Linked DNA regions of Homo sapiens: region 1 is linked to region 2. Evidence: promoter capture Hi-C in human tissues and cell types (Jung and others, 2019). All regions are on one chromosome and are shown on one strand. The core of a region is centred on a gene start or on the middle of the fragment in contact, and the rest is flanking DNA. Distances in the headings are between cores, read along the strand shown.

The links. Contacts are between HindIII fragments. The study calls those that stand out against the background at their distance.
Region 1: the fragment with the promoter of OR11H6 here is called in contact with the fragment with the promoter of OR4K15 in region 2 in 4 of the 25 tissues and cell types used here (H1 embryonic stem cells, adrenal gland, aorta and 1 more).

The regions. Positions count from the first base shown.
Region 1 is chr14:20,222,363-20,225,062 of GRCh38, forward strand. It overlaps OR11H6 (olfactory receptor family 11 subfamily H member 6), which reads left to right and starts at 1,348. Exons shown (of 1, transcript NM_001004480.1): 1 at 1,348-2,340. The coding sequence starts at 1,348. The coding sequence ends at 2,340. The HindIII fragment of the contact is 13,960 bases long and covers 1-2,500 here.
Region 2 is chr14:19,974,238-19,976,937 of GRCh38, forward strand. OR4K15 (olfactory receptor family 4 subfamily K member 15) reads left to right here and starts at 1,354. Exons shown (of 1, transcript NM_001005486.2): 1 at 1,354-2,328. The coding sequence starts at 1,354. The coding sequence ends at 2,328. The HindIII fragment of the contact is 7,551 bases long and covers 1-2,700 here.

The sequences.
Region 1 (2,700 bases), core at 98-2,597, 250 kb after region 2:
TGTAAAGATGGAATTTTGTGAGTATCTTAACAGTGACGCTAATAATACAATAAATTATCCTAATTTTAAAGTCATTATATTGCTAAATTTAAAATATTGATAGTGGCTTACCCAGCCAAATATTCTGAACTTTAACAAGGATATTTGAGGACACAGAAATAAGCCTGCTGGACCAATAGTTTCTAGAAAATTGTTAGCAAAATATCTAAGTTATTTATCTTGTCTCAACTCCTGATTTAGAAAATATCAGAAAGATCTTTCTGTTCTCTGCACATCCTGAGGTGACTCTTTTATTCATTATTTAATTTATGGAAAAGCAAGATAATGAAGGGACAAATTATAAAGTTTAGGACTTAATTTCTAGCAAAAATAAAGGCACATGGCTTTATTACTAGAGAAATTGATTTACCCAACAGCAAGCTCCCTCAAGAGCTAAGTCATGATGTAGAATAGTACAATTTGTTGGAGAAGGAGGCTGACAAGCAGGGAAAATGGTGGCCTGCCAAAGAAGTCATAGGTAAGGGACATAACAGCTGCCTTCAGTTATTTAAGACCTCACTACCACCATCATGGGAGAGGAATTAGACTTATTTTGTGTAGTTTCAACAAAGTCAAAGTTTACCTGCTGACTTGGGGAGTACCAAGATCAATGGGTAAAAGTAATAAAGGATACAAAGTTTGCTCACCATAAAGAAGGGCTTTGAGAGAACTAGAGCTCCTCACGAGAAAAAGGGGCTGGATTATTCAGCAAATCCAGATGCCACCAGGGAGAATGTGATCTGGGGGGAACTAGATTTGTAGCTTTCAGACCATTTTACAGATTCCTAAGGGTTCTGCAGCACCTCCCTGAGAGTAGCAAAAGGAAGGGAGCTGAAGACTCCCCAAAGTTTAATTCCTATCTGCTTTTTATTGGACTTCTACATATGAGGCTCTAAGAAGGCAATTTTAATATAGCAACTATTCTTGCTTCAGATTTATACTCAATTTTGCTTTAAAGTAAAAGAATATATCCAAAGTTTATATTTATATGTAGAGTATCTAAGGGGCAGTGATTTTACCATTAAAGATGAAACATTACTGAGACTCAGGGTTATAGAAAATTTGAAGTGAAACATGATTTGTTCCAAACCAATCTCCAAATAGGCCAGTGTATCTGGGCGTTACTGGCTTTGTACATATGTTTAAGTGAACCCTTCTAATCTCTTTGAACTTCAATTACCCTGTCTGTGAAAGAGAAGGGTAAAGAATACCTCCTCGCAGCTCAAAGAGTCATTAGGAAGACCAAATGAGATAATGTATGTAAAAATACTTAGTACATCATCCAGCATGAGTTAGCAAAATCTCCAAATGTTCTTTATTATTCATTCTTTGGTTACTTCTGTTTTTCTAACAGCTTTGGGACCCCAGAACAGAACAATGCATTTTGTGACTGAGTTTGTCCTCCTGGGTTTCCATGGTCAAAGGGAGATGCAGAGCTGCTTCTTCTCATTCATCCTGGTTCTCTATCTCCTGACACTGCTAGGGAATGGAGCTATTGTCTGTGCAGTGAAATTGGACAGGCGGCTCCACACACCCATGTACATCCTTCTGGGAAACTTTGCCTTTCTAGAGATCTGGTACATTTCCTCCACTGTCCCAAACATGCTAGTCAATATCCTCTCTGAGATTAAAACCATCTCCTTCTCTGGTTGCTTCCTGCAATTCTATTTCTTTTTTTCACTGGGTACAACAGAGTGTTTCTTTTTATCAGTTATGGCTTATGATCGGTACCTGGCCATCTGTCGTCCATTACACTACCCCTCCATCATGACTGGGAAGTTCTGTATAATTCTGGTCTGTGTATGCTGGGTAGGCGGATTTCTCTGCTATCCAGTCCCTATTGTTCTTATCTCCCAACTTCCCTTCTGTGGGCCCAACATCATTGACCACTTGGTGTGTGACCCAGGCCCATTGTTTGCACTGGCCTGCATCTCTGCTCCTTCCACTGAGCTTATCTGTTACACCTTCAACTCGATGATTATCTTTGGGCCCTTCCTCTCCATCTTGGGATCTTACACTCTGGTCATCAGAGCTGTGCTTTGTATTCCCTCTGGTGCTGGTCGAACTAAAGCTTTCTCCACATGTGGGTCCCACCTAATGGTGGTGTCTCTATTCTATGGAACCCTTATGGTGATGTATGTGAGCCCAACATCAGGGAACCCAGCAGGAATGCAGAAGATCATCACTCTGGTATACACAGCAATGACTCCATTCTTAAATCCCCTTATCTATAGTCTTCGAAACAAAGACATGAAAGATGCTCTAAAGAGAGTCCTGGGGTTAACAGTTAGCCAAAACTGAGATATCTTTGAAAAAGAAGCCAAATTGGCCACTTCTGACCTTAATTTTTTATAACTATAGAGAGTAGCTTCAGTAGTATGTTCTGGCTCACACTCAGGTAGACAGACTTATCTTTCACAGTTCCTTAGCAGTTAAATTCAGCTCATTAATGATAAATGCCAATGCTCAATAAAACATTTTAAACATATGTGGCCTCACTGAGTAGTTATGTGGTGGGTGGGTGTATATATACGTATATTATTTTTCTGTGATGTATCTTTGCTAGTTTTAATCTTAGCTGACAGAAGAAATCAATTGCATGTGTACTGAAACCTTTCAAAAGAGTGAGATCTGGCTGGGCACGGTGGCTCACGACTGTAA
Region 2 (2,700 bases), core at 104-2,603:
TAAAATAAAAGACATCCTCTCCCAAGACCTGATTAAGATGTAGAGAAAGATTCTTCAAAATCAGATAATGTAATGCTCCTTTAAAATTCACATTTTATTTTTTCCTATTTTCCATAAAACTTTTATAAGTTCTAAATAGCTTCTACAAATAAAAATAACAAAAGGAAGAAAGCTCTGATAACATAGAATATAGAGTAACTGAATAGAAAAGAAAAATCATTTTTTTCCTGGTCTGAATTCCTTAGTAATAAGTAATATAACTTATTAGTTATATTAGTATTTATAGTAAGCAATATAACTTATAAGTTTTTAAGCCACATCACATCAAATGAAATATCAATCATAGCTCAATAAAATGTCTATGGTTAGTAACACCAATGGCTAAGTTTAAAGAAGCTTCATACCTTCAGGGATTAATTGAAAGGAACCAGTGTGCTAGATTTCATGATAAAGTAGAACTCCATGAAGAGCTGAATCATAAAAGAGTTCCAATAATATTGGGGCCTTTCAATTTTGCCAGGGTTCTGTACTTTAGTTTATATAATTTTTAACTGTAGAGAAGAAATAAGGTATAATCACTTAAGGCAATGATTTCTCCTGTGAGCTCTCTTATGCAAATCTAATGCTGTCTCTCTTTCTCTCTTGTTTTAATTTTCATAATTATGCAACTTATGTATACAAAAGTGAAAAAAGCAAAAGTTCATATTTCAGTAAGTTTTCATAAAGTAAATACTCCCATGTAACTATCAACCACATCAAGAAAGAATATTACCAGCACTTCAGAAGCCCCTCCCATGACCACTTCCTGTCCCTTAAGGATAACTGCTAGGAGGTTTTTCTACACCTTAGTTTGCCATTTTTGAACTTCATTTAAATAGACCAATACAGTGTATACTCTTCCGTATCTAACTTTTTAAGTCATCAAGTTTGTGAAATTATCTTCCTCTGTGGCAGATGTTCAAAAAATTTTTATATCATTTACTTTAGAAAAAATTGGTTTAGATTTTGTCTCCGTAGATTTTTAGACTGATTTCTGTAGTGTCACAAAAACTTCAGATGCTCAAATTCATTTTTAGATTGTTGATTTTATTTCTTAAATTAATGTATTTAGATATCCCAGTTGGTTGAACATCTCCTTGACAACCCTCCCCTTTAACGCAATCTTCCATACTTAGCTGTACTAGCTGTATAACTTGTAATAACTCATGAAAACCCAGACACATACATAGCAATAGGAATTGGAATTCTGAAAAGTTTAAGTGTAATTGGAAAATCAAACCCATGCTCACTTCATTAACTGATCTCTGTTTCTCTCCTATTCAGGTAGCTGAAATTAAGTCCCTTCCAAAATCGATGAATGAGACAAATCATTCTCGGGTGACAGAATTTGTGTTGCTGGGACTGTCTAGTTCAAGGGAGCTCCAACCTTTCTTGTTTCTTACATTTTCACTACTTTATCTAGCAATTCTGTTGGGCAACTTTCTCATCATCCTCACTGTGACCTCAGATTCCCGCCTTCACACCCCCATGTACTTTCTGCTTGCAAACCTGTCATTTATAGACGTATGTGTTGCCTCTTTTGCTACCCCTAAAATGATTGCAGACTTTCTGGTTGAGCGCAAGACTATTTCTTTTGATGCCTGCCTGGCCCAGATTTTCTTTGTTCATCTCTTCACTGGCAGTGAAATGGTGCTCCTAGTTTCCATGGCCTATGACCGTTATGTTGCTATATGCAAACCTCTCCACTACATGACAGTCATGAGCCGTCGTGTATGTGTTGTGCTCGTCCTCATTTCATGGTTTGTGGGCTTCATCCATACTACCAGCCAGTTGGCATTCACTGTTAATCTGCCATTTTGTGGTCCTAATAAGGTAGACAGTTTTTTCTGTGACCTTCCTCTAGTGACCAAGTTAGCCTGCATAGACACTTATGTTGTCAGCTTACTAATAGTTGCAGATAGTGGCTTTCTTTCTCTGAGTTCCTTTCTCCTCTTGGTTGTCTCCTACACTGTAATACTTGTTACAGTTAGGAATCGCTCCTCTGCAAGCATGGCGAAGGCCCGCTCCACATTGACTGCTCACATCACTGTGGTCACTTTATTCTTTGGACCATGCATTTTCATCTATGTGTGGCCCTTCAGCAGTTACTCAGTTGACAAAGTCCTTGCTGTATTCTACACCATCTTCACGCTTATTTTAAACCCTGTAATCTACACGCTAAGAAACAAAGAAGTGAAGGCAGCTATGTCAAAACTGAAGAGTCGGTATCTGAAGCCTAGTCAGGTTTCTGTAGTCATAAGAAATGTTCTTTTCCTAGAAACAAAGTAAACTTATGAGACTGTTACCACTTTAGCCCTGTCTCCATACACTTACAAGTGGATTCACTGTAATCTTAAAGCAAATCAACTTGGCCTGTGGGAAAGCTCAGTTGATCGATTTGAAGCAAACTGTAATGATAATAAAAACTCATGAAATAAACTTTAGTGATTTTAAATATTCTTTCTCCATTGTATATTTTTTAATATCCTACTTTGTATTCTTTATTTTAAAATTTCTTAAGATACAGACTTTGATGACATTGAGAAAATGACATTACCTTATAAATGGTTAATATACTGTTGTCTCTCCCTTTGAAAACAGTACTACTCACACCAACTTTGGAGTAATGATAGGTGCATATCTCCAAGCCACAGATATAAT